2 separate regions of the Homo sapiens genome follow, and region 1 is linked to region 2. Evidence: promoter capture Hi-C in 16 types of primary human blood cells and fetal thymus (Javierre and others, 2016). All regions are on one chromosome and are shown on one strand. Each heading gives the region's core, a stretch centred on a gene start or on the middle of the fragment in contact. The rest is flanking DNA. Distances are from core to core; before and after follow the strand shown. Region 1 overlaps LHFPL6 (LHFPL tetraspan subfamily member 6). Region 2 holds the start of LHFPL6 (LHFPL tetraspan subfamily member 6).

What was found. Contacts are between HindIII fragments. The CHiCAGO score rates a contact against its expected background, and 5 or more counts as called.
Region 1: a fragment that was not itself captured here is called in contact with the fragment with the promoter of LHFPL6 in region 2 in 1 of 17 cell types (endothelial precursors); the score reaches 6.5 in endothelial precursors.

Annotation. Positions count from the first base shown.
Region 1 is chr13:39,365,013-39,370,514 of GRCh38, reverse strand. All of the region lies in intron 3 of LHFPL6 (LHFPL tetraspan subfamily member 6), which reads left to right. Among named protein-coding and RNA genes, the nearest start is that of LHFPL6, 240 kb to the left of the region's middle. The HindIII fragment of the contact is 1,673 bases long and covers 1,238-2,910 here.
Region 2 is chr13:39,601,269-39,607,162 of GRCh38, reverse strand. It overlaps LHFPL6 (LHFPL tetraspan subfamily member 6), which reads left to right and starts at 3,970. Exons shown (of 4, transcript NM_005780.3): 1 at 3,970-4,280; 2 at 5,773-5,894. It overlaps LOC112268119 (protein SPT2 homolog), which reads right to left and starts at 5,839. Exons shown (of 4, transcript XM_035861111.2): 1 at 5,770-5,839; 2 at 4,623-4,713; 3 at 3,521-4,519. The coding sequence starts at 5,839. RefSeq lists a silencer at 3,776-4,075. The HindIII fragment of the contact is 2,884 bases long and covers 2,711-5,594 here.

The sequences.
Region 1 (5,502 bases), core at 825-3,324, 230 kb after region 2:
TAGTAAGGTATTGAACATGCATTGAAATGTAGGCAAATTTAAGGCCGTTAATGCAGCAATGATGTCCTACCTCCCAAATGACTATTAACTGAATATTTTCTAAACTTTTGACACTTAAATCCAAGTCACTGGAAGTCATTTAGAAGGTCCAGCATGAGCCTGGATTTCCTCACCCAGAGCTCTAGCACAGAATCACAGGAAAGCCAAGCAGCTGCTGTGAATTCAACAAAGACCCAAATTGTATAGGAACCCATGGGGGCACTCAGGAACTTGGCTCCAAATGATGCAGGGAAACTTCCGCGTCCAAGGGAGCCCACCCTGGCCAGTGATGACATGACTGAGCAAAGTGTTCAGGCACCCGCAAGGCAACAATAATAAGCTTTTCTGGTCACTCAGCCTTTCTTAGGGGCCTCTTTCCATCAGATGAAGAGTTTTCTGCCTTTACTCTAGAAGTAGGGAGAATGCCACATTTTTTCAGGGATGTTCATTCAACCTGCCCATTCCAGTAGGTTCCACGTTTTCAAAATCAGAGCCAGAACATTTCTATTTTATAACTTAGTAAACACCTCTTGTCCTGCTTTGGGAAAAAGGACCCCACTCTGTACAATCATAGATTCAATTTGATCTGTTTCCCTAAACACAGTTTTGCAGATCCCAGATGAACCTGTGGGATAGGATTTTTCAACTTCGGTGCCTAGCTTGGTGTTTGGTGTTCAATAGATTCACTTACTTCCTCAAGCAAATATTTATTAAGCACATTCTAGGCAACAAAAGTTGTGCCACAAACAAAATTGTGAAGAAGATAGACATAATTCTTACTGGCATGCCATATATCTGCCATCTATTGAATGGTTAAAAAATTAGGAGGGAGAATGAGAGGAAAGGAAAGGGGGAAGGAAGGGAGGGAGAGAGGGAGGAAGGAAGGAAGGAAGGAAGGAAGGAAGGAAACCTACTATGAATTTTTGATCACAGAAACAGCAGCTGCCATCATGTTTCTGTATATATTTGGCCACTGATATCCTACCAAGAATCATGGCATCACTTTTTAAGGGACTAATGGCCTAACCACCTCCCAAAAAAAAATTTAAAAACCAAGTCAGGGTAATCATTTAAAGAACCAGATACCCTGATAGGTGGAAAAAAAATTGCTCTACATTCTTTTTTTCTCAAGTCTATTTTGGCTTGGTTATTTCAGTGTGGATCATTCCTACTCTTTTATTTATGCCTTTGTAAAGCTTCATTCAGTGGCTTGCAGAGATTTATAGCAGGGAAATTCAAGCAATTGTGGGAAAAAGGAAATCTCTTAGAAAACCTGTGGGAAATAAGATTTCTTGAGATATGGTTACAAAACTATTGGGGAGAATATGCTAGTCTCTCTTTTAAAGATTCTTCTTTTTTTTTTTTTTTCAGTGTTGTCCTTTTATTAGTTTAAAAAAAAAAAGACGTACCTGAGTTTGCCTTTTCAGATGTAAAGTACTTAAGGACATTTAGGAAATTGAGCTGTTTCATTCTAATTATTTTTTGTATTATGTGTTCTCAACCATTATATTCTTTCCCATCATTTCAGCCAGAATATATAAAATATAAAACAGAAAGAAGCCCCTTTTTATCATTAGTGGCTCTGTTGTCAAATAGTCATTCCTGAGACCTGTGGACATTTATAGAATGCTGTTGCCATTTTAATAAGAAATCAAGACTGAAATAATTTTTTTGTTCTTTCTGGTTTTGTTGTTGCATTGCAATTGTTTTATGTCACAGTTATTGATTATTCATTGCAGTCATTAATGATGCCTGTCTCTTTTTATTCTCTCACTTCTAATTTGTGCCCTTTCTAAAGATCATAAATCATTTTAAAATCATGCTATGAAGGAACAATCTTCAGTCCTTTTTTCTGAGGATTTTGTGTCTTTTTTGATGTTGTTATTGTTGTTGTTGAGACGGAGTCTCACTCTGTTGCCAGGCTGGAGTGCAGTGGCGTGATCTTGGCTCACTGCAACCTCCACCTTTCAGGTTCAAGAGATTCTCCTGCCTCAGCCTCCAGAGTTGCTGGGACTACAGGCGTGCACCACCAGACCCAGCTAATTTTTGTATTTTTAATAGAGACAGGGTTTCACCATGGTGGCCAGGATGGTCTTGATCTCTTGACCTCGTTATCTGCCCGCCTCAGCCTCCCAAAGTGCTGAGGTTACAGGCGTGAGCCACCATGCCCAGCCTGTATTTTTTTTTTTCCTCCACCGCCCACTGCAACCTTTGCCTCCTGGGCTCAAGTGATTCTCCTGCCTCGCCCTCCCAAATAGTTGGGATTACAGGTATGCACAACAATGCCCGGCTAATTTTTGTAATTCTTAGTAGAGACAGGGTTTCACCATGATGGCCAGGCTGGTCTCGAACTCCTGGCCTCAAGTGAGTGACCCACCCGCCTTGGCCTCCCAAAGTGCTGGGGTTACAAGCATGAGCCACCATGCCTGGCTGGATTTTACATCTTTGAAGCATTGATGTTTATATGTTCTGGCTAGTAGTTTTTAACCTCCTGATTTGGGGTCATGTTTTGGATAGGTGGAGATGTTATTAATACTTAATTGATATCTGGCTAAGTAAGCTACTTTGGGTTAGCAACTGGATGTTTTGATGACACTGGTAGAAGAGTTAAATGTTATGGTAACCTTTGATCTTCAGACTGATTTTAACTTAAGGTCTCCAGACCGTTTAAGTGGCTCATAGTCCATCAGTAGGCTTCAGAGAAATTCAGAATCTACTGAAATGCTTTGCAATTTTCATAGGCTTTTGGACATGTGCTTTTTTCTGGAGAGAATATTCATAGCTTTTGTTATTATTCAAATGGATTCCTGACACCTGAAGACTTAGAACCTATATAGTAAACAACATTTGGAAGTCTTACATGGGAAAGCTTAGAGATCTGAACTCTAGACCTCACCTCCCAACAATCCTCAAATTCCTCCAGAAAGCTAGAACACAGTTGAACCCCTTTGACTTGATTTCATTATCTACGAAAGTATTTGTTAAGGGATATTATACAGAAACGCACCTCTGCTTACAAGAAGTGTTATGCAAATAAATGCTACCATACAATAGTTCCTTTGTATTTTTATTTTTTAAGCCATTTTTGTCTTTTTTATTATTTCAAATTTTATTTTAGATTCAGGGGATACATGTTCAGGATTGTTACATGGATATATTGTGTAACACTGGGGTTTGGGGTACAAATGATACCATCATCCAGGTAGGGAACATAGTACCCCATAGGTAGTTTTTCAGCCCTTACCCCTCTCTGTTTTGCCTCACTCTAGTGATCCCCTGTGTCTGTGGTTCCCATGTTTATATCCATGCCATGCACCAGTTCTAATTCAAAATCACATCTGTGAAAATGAGTGTTCAGCCTTCCTAGTGAATTGAATATGCTTCCACTTAGGATCTTAGCCAGTTTCATTAGTGCCGCTGTTGGAGATTGTTCTTCACAGATCTCTTGTGTGTTAGCACAACTTGTCAGCACAGACACTCTATTCTGAACTATCATTTCGAAGATGTTTGTGTAGTAAACAGTCTTGGAAGTAGAGCAGAGGATAGGTGTGTTTAGTGTCCATTATAATAAAAATAATGCCTTTCTCTGGGGTAAATAAAGATTGGGCAGATTTTATTGCAGTCCATTATAAAAGATTTGAGTTCCCTTAGTTTGGGTTCCTCAACTGTGACACAAACCCACTATGTTTGTTGCATTCATCTGGGCTGTTTCACATCAGCCCCTGTGAGGAGAGGGCAACAAAGGGAGTGGACATAAACATGGAGCTCATGCTGCCTGCTGTGCTGTGAGTAATACAGTCCTTTGTCTCTGATCCAGGAGTCTCCTATCTTTTGCCAGCGTCCACAAAATTGTGATAGTATAACTTGTTACATTGCAAATAGAGTAAAATATCAAACCTTCACAGTTCTTAAGACTACTGTTACAATGCCTATAGTTCCTTGAAAAATACTTCATCATAGACAGTGATATATGGGTATTATTTAAGGGAAACCACAACTCGAGTGCATATTCCGGACTGGATACTCATGGGTGCTAGTACAAGTGGTTCTGTTATTCATATCTTGACTAACACTGGAAGCTTTACTAATTAGCACAGCAATGATCAAAATGGACTTTTATTGGTAGAATTAGATCTTATTAAATAGCATGATGAATATTAAAAATGGACTTTCATTGGTGAAATTAAAAATACTCAAGATTGTGGATTGGTAGAATCCACATAAGTAGTTAGAGACACTCCCTATTTTTGCTTGCAAGGATTTAAGCATCCATCCAGTCATAGTGTTATCACTCTAAGTCTGAGTGATATTCAAAATATTTAATAATCAATATGTCATAGGCTATGAAAAATGTGAGCTAAAACAAGTACTGGCCATGTGCAGAGGCTCCCATGGGGCCCTCCTTTGCCAGGCACTAGCCCTTTGGTTTCTGGGATGTGAGGCAAGGATTCCCTAGGGTTTTCAAGGGAAGAAAGGGTTTTGGGGGAACTTGGGGCAGTGGCTGTTTACCTACAGACAGAGGTACATATTTTAGTATTTTGATACCCAGTACAGCCTTACTGATGCATTCCATCTGTGCCCTCACTATTCTTAGGAATGGTATCCACGGCTTGATCATCCCTAAAGTGTTCAGTTTCTAGTCTCTGGTTTGGAAGATTTCTGGTTTTTTGTTGCCAAAGAGAACAGAATCCTGCCATGGAACCTTGCTGCATTTTCCCTAGCAGTTTATTCAAGAAGTTGGTCGTCCAAATACCTAAAAAGAGAGCTAGGACTTAACTAGCTCCCAGGTCAGTTTGATGTTTTGTGCCTGCTTTTTGATGGCTATTTGTTGAATAAGTGTCTGTATGTGTAGGAGGATTTGTTCCGAGACTTGCTTTCATTATAAGTTGGAAATGAGATTGTGGAAGAGTATCTTACCACGTCTTGCACTTTTTCAACAGATTGTAATTTACCAAAAAGAGTCTCAAGGCTATGCTTGCCCAAATTGAATGAGGTTCGTTCCCAAGAGCTACTGTACAAGCAAAAAGGGATCATCAAGGAAAACCTTTTAGATTGAGGGCAGCTAACAAACATCAAAGCAGTGCTTGCTGCAGTTCCGTTCCGGTTCTCTAGGTATGTAACCGGATACCTAGAGAGTATATTCAGAGACTGCTTGGTGGCCAGTGGTAGTATGACCGGTACAGACAGGGAGGGCAGATTAATAACATCACGAGGAAATGCAGCACCTCTTCACATGGGTTTTATAGGAAAATGGCTGCAGCCATAGTTCACATGGAGGAGCAGTAATTAGAGACAGACTGGTTCTTTTCACACTGTCTTCTGGGCAGTCCATGAGTCAGAGGAGCTGGATTTCAGGTATTTCCAGCCTTTATAAATAGCAGCTACAGACAGAAACTGAAGGATAATCTTTATCACCATACACTAAATAAAGCCTGATTGGTTATCTTAGCCACCCCCACCTGG
Region 2 (5,894 bases), core at 2,721-5,220:
TCCTGACCTCAGGTGATCCACCCGCCTCGGCCTCCCAAAGTGCTGGGATTACAGGTGTGAGCCACCATGCCAAGCCTGCCCTCTTGGGTTTTTATGGAAGCTTCATGATGTCACCATTGCTTTCCTCAGGATATGGGGTGGGTCCCTCTCAGGGGAGGGTCCTAAGACCCACAGTCAGAAAGGAGGGGGAAAGATTAGAGTACTGCCTTGGGGCAGGTGAAAGGAGAGCAGAAGCAGGTTAGAGAGGTTCTGTTTCTTGAGGTCTGTTCCTGAGGCCTAACATACCCAACACTGTAACAAAATACTGTAACAAGGGCTATGGGTGTTGGGAGCTAGGAACTGTAGACAAAAATTAATATATATCATAACACACACATCGCCCCTCAAATTTCAAGGGAGGCTAGGACGTGGAGATTTTAGCTTTCACTGCTTTCGTAGGAGATAACAATGTAAAAGAAGTGAGTTGGAAATGATATCAGCCAAACTGTAGTGTTTGCCACAATTGTGGACAGACTAAATCCCTTTCCAATCTCTCTCTGGTAGTCAGAAGTGATTGATTTCATTATGTTCTCGATATTTCATTATCATGCTCCTTCCCTAATTTCACATAGCATACCATTTGTTTAAAAATTAAATACCCACTCTGTAGGCTGCATTAGAACAAGGATAGTAATCACGATGATATTGATTTGTTCATTAAATCCCACAATTACTGTTTGATTATTGAGTATCTGTCTACATTGCCAAGCACTGAGATACAATGTTCACTGATGTATATTTCCTCTCATTGAAAATGTCTTATCTATACCATGCTTTATCAATTAGGAATGCTTTTAGCTACTAAAAGGAGAAAATTCAACTCATAGTGATTTAAACCATATTAAAAATCTATAATTTACTTTTTAAATAATTCAAATGGAGGTGAGAAGCTCTACAATGTTAGATCACTGGGAGTATGTCTCTGTGACCCCCCACCTGGTTACAAGAAGGCTGCTAGAGCTCTAAACACCTTCAAGAATGTGCCCGAAGACAGTCATGATGGTGAGAGAACTATTCTCTCACGTCTCCTTATTTTATCAGAGAATACAATCTTCCCCAGAGGCCTCCTTAGCAAACTCATTGGCTACAGCAGGATCAAGTGGCCATTACTTGCTTTAAGGGATGCTAGAAGAGTATCTGGTGAGAAGGGAGAGGGGATTGTGAATTAATACTGGGTAGCCAACCAAGAGTGTTGTCATAAACACTTTATAGCTTTCCATATACTGTCGCATTCATGATCTCATCTTGTGACTCAATGAGACTACTATCCAAACATACTGGAAACCCAAACCTGGAATAGGTGTTATAAGTGGCATCTGCTATGTGGGAACTTCTGGCTGTGAAGTAATTTAATGGTCCTTTAAAGGTACAAATTTAATGCAAAGGGGCTTAAATAAATTATAATGCATTTTGCTTACAAAGTGTGCATGGAAGAACATAAGGAGTAATTCAGAAGATATTATAGTTTAGTAAGATAATTAGAAAGAGAAATCAAGATATGTGGATTATAGCCTCAGCTTTGGGTAAGACACTGGAAGAATTTCGAGCCTCTGTTTTGTCAGCTGTAAAATTACATACTTGAACAAGATTAGATGATCTCTAAATTCCTTCTCAAAGATAAGAGGACCCATATAACCATGATGCTGGAAGTTGTGAGCTTAAAAAAAATTAAAATAACCTATTTCAATCTCTTTTTAACAATGAGATAACTTAGGGCTTGGGAAGATCACCATTTGTCTGAATTCACTTATTTAAGTTAGAAATTTGAGTCCCAGTATTATACTTTCACAAATAATTGATATTGCATCCTGAAAGATTTTTAAAAATTTGGCCTCTTCTGTCATTTTTTTTTTCATTTTAGGCAGAATCTCTGTGATAGCATTTACTCTGCTTAAGAGAGTGCAAATAATGAGATTTTTTTAAAAGTCATTTTTTAGCTGTAAATTTTTGGGCAAATTACTTCTTATCCTTGCGGTAAAATAATAATTATTCCTTCTTCATAATTTTTCTTTTCTTTTTTGAGGACTGGATAAGTAATCTATTAAGGGACCTTAATGTACTAACACACAGCAAGGAGTCAATCTGTAGTAACCATGATTATCATTAATATGTCTCCAGCCAGCACTTGCGCTTAAGCTTTCTCACACTTAAGAAAGTGTTTGAGAGCAATTTCCCCTGCAGGTTGTACGGAGGTGACTCCGATTCTCACTATTATTCTTTTGTCTTTTATGATCATATCTTCCACCATCATATTATATAGGTATGAAGGCTCTGTGTAATAACTAAGGGTGTGGTACCTAACTGGAAGTCAGACCAATCATTCTTATGCTGTCACTGAAACCAGTAACCGGTGATTTGTAAGAGAAGAGTTAAAACAACTTAAACTCAACAACAACACCAAAAACAAAAACACTTAAATTGGGGATTCTGAATATGGGATTCATGGATGGGCTTTAAGGGAATGGGAAACCACCTGATATTTCATTCAAATGATTGACATTTTGGCCCAGGTAATTTTGGGGACTGTCCTGTGCACTGTATTTAGCAGAATCTCGGGTCTTTACCAACTAGATGCCAGTAATACTCCCCATTCATGGGTTATGATAATCAAAATTATCTTCAGACCTTGCCAAATATCCCTTTCCTTCTTCAGAATCGCTGTGGTAAAGCTTTATATGTCCGCGCATTTTTTTTTCTGGAAGGCTTATCAGTTTCATCGTATTTTTTAAAAGACCTGTGACCTCAAAAGGCTTGGAATCAATCACTTAAGGTCTTTCAAAATAATAATAAAAGAACACATATCTCCAGCTGTCGTTGTGGGAAAAATGTACACCATCACGGCTAATTAAAATGGTGCAGTCTGAAAATCTGCTATGAAATATATACCTACCAATTTATTACTTTCAACTCCTCTAAAAAGACACCTCACAAAAACTATATCTGGGAAACTGTCTACTTCAAAAACTGCTGTTCCCAGATGGCATACTTCTTAAAATACTGTGTTCAGCAGAGACTCCCACAGTCATCTACTGAATCTAGCTCTAAACTTCTAAAGGGGTTAGTGCTAATGACAAGTGGAAAAAGTCCTCAAGTCCAGAGGGGAACTAAAAATCAGTTGTTTCTCAGAAAAGAAATCAAACGATGGAATAAATTGCAAAATTGATCAGGAGGCAGGATGGAGGAGAAGGGAGGGAGGAAGTGAAGGGAAAGGGAGGGAGGGAGGGAGAGAGAGACAGAGAAACAGCAAGAGAGAGAGAGAGAGACCTTTGAAAGAGTGTATCTCTTGGGAGAGGCTCGCTAGAGGTCCGCCCCTGCCTTCTCCCTGGCTCGTCTGGAAAGGCAGCTGCCCCCATGCCATACATGAGCCTTGGGCTGTCTGCTGTGCTTTAATTCCCACGTCCACAACCGCCTCATTCACCGCCTTCCAAAGTGACCACTTCTCAAAAGCCTCCTCAAATCTCAAAGGGGCCACTTTACCCACTCTTTAAGGCCCTCTTTCCCGTCTACGGCTTCTTTTAACGGCGGCAGGAAAACAGGAGCATAAACCCGAACAGTAAACCCAGAAAAGCCCCAACAGGCAAAGTGTGTCATCTTCCGTGGCTCCTCGGGGTCACCCAGGAAGACAAGCAACTTTCTCCCATACTTCTCGGTCTGTCTGCCTTCCCCACTCAGCTTTGAATGAGACGCAGGGAGAGGGGGCGCGAGGGGGCTCGGGGCTAGGGGAGGAGCCGCGAAAGCTGCCCCCGGGGGTGGGCCTGGACCCGCGCGGACAGCGGGGCACCCCCCCACTCCCTTCCCGGCGCTCCAGGAACGTCCCCGGTGCGTCCTGGGTCTGTCTGCGCGGAGTTCCCCGGGGCGCGAGGGGAGGGGACTGGAGAAAGAGGAGGGCCGGGCAGCGGAGGGGAGGAGGCGGTGCGTGCCTCGCCTGCCAAAGGGAGATCCGCTCCTCTGCGTGCGATCCCCGGCGCCCGCGCGCGCCCACAGCGCTCCGCCAGAGCTGCCGCCGCGGACTCGCCGGGAGTGGGGGTCTCCGCTGGTGCCAGCCCGCTTCTGGAGACCCTCCGCCTCCTGCCAACCCCTGCTCTTCCAGGTCGGGCCCCGGGGTTCTGCGGCTGTTAGGGACAGAGGCAAAGAAGGGCAGGACGGTCCGGTTTCCCGTGGATGTTCCCGCCCGAGAAAGACAGCAAGTTGTGTGTGCGCCCGGGACGCGGGAGGGAAGGTGGCCGCCGCCCGCCAGCCATGTAAGTAAATCACTCGGCTGCCCCGTGGGCGTGGGCTCCGCTGCTTTCTCCCGGGCTCCCTCTCTGCCCCGGAGCCGGAGTTGGGCTGCTCCCGGGCTCCGGACTTCCTGAGCTCGGCGGATCCGTCGGCTCTGCCTGCCAGCCGCGTCCGCTCTTGGCGTCTGCCTCCGGGGGGTGCTGCCTTCCCATCCTTATCCCCTCCCTTCGTCCAGAGCCGGCTGGAAAATGCCTCTTGCCCCCTTTTAGAATGGAGGGATCATTGTGTGTCTCCATGGGTGGAGTGGCTCGGTGAGGCAATGGCAGGGGGCTAAATATGGGCTTGTCTTGGCGAGGGCGCCTCACCGCAGTTGGAGATGGGGGCCCCCTGCCCGCAGGCCACCCCCTGCTGGTCTTCCCCAGCCTCGTGGCCCAGATAGATCAACTTCAGCCCTGACTGCAGTTGACAAGATTAGAAAAAAAAGTAGTAGCCGACCTCCCGTTTGAGTGACATCCAGAACTGAAAATGGGCGGTGGTTAGAGAAAAAAACGGGTAGGGGCGAGGTGAAGAAAGGGGGAAATTTGCTATGGACCCTGAAAGCTGGAGTTAGGGGTCCTGGGGGTGGAATTCTAGGGTGGATGGGCTCTGTGCTTCTGTATTCATTTCTTTATGGAAAGTGTGAGAAATGGTTAAGGAACTCTTTTTGAAAGGCTGGGGTGGAAGTAGATGCCCCTGGAACCATTTGGATGACTGGGGTTTGATGTAGCATACTGGGAAGTATGGATTGCTGTTCAAATTAGACAATCATTCAGTGGGAGAAATGATTGCAATAGAACTGTTGGAATCAATGAATCAAAACTGCAGACTCAAAATAAGTCATACACAGGCATTCTTTTACACTAGAAGATGTTAAGACTAAAGAAATTCTGAAATGCTGCTGAATGAGTACAAAGAGTGTCTGGTAATAGTTCTGTACTGTGGGTGCCTCCGCAGACCATAATGCTTGTTAAATTTATGGTACTCTGCAATTGTGAAAAATTATCCTAATTAGTTTGTTTGGCTCATGCAGAGAGTTAATGCACCCTTAAAGGGACATAGAAAAGTTGCAACAAACTATGAGCATGAACTTGCAAGCCAAAAAATGGAAATCATGGCATGGTTCATTTTATTTTAATTGTTTATTGCCCAGTGAAAGTGCTACATTACTTTTAATGTGAGTATATAATATATAGAATGAATTCATTGGCCTGTCAAATAAAAATCGGGCGTTTCTTTAAGTAAATAGCTGTCAGAGTTAATTTGGAAATATTTACGGAAGATAAAGACATGAAAAAGCTTTGAGCTGGTTTGACAAAAATCGAGTTATGAAGCTCATAGAGAGAATTAGTTCTTCCCACTTTTAAAGTGTTGAGGCAAGTCTCAATGTTTATTAATTGAAAATTGTAGACTAGCTGAAACAGTGTTATCACTTCTTTTAATGCCTTTAATTTTTAATGTTTCCTGTTGTTTTACCAGGGACCATCATCTTTAGTGCAGAGGATGGAAAGTTGATGCCCAGTAAGACTGAAGATCCATTCTGCATTACGGAACTGTGGATTATCTGTGGGTCCCTGGTGATTTCACACCTTCATTCACTC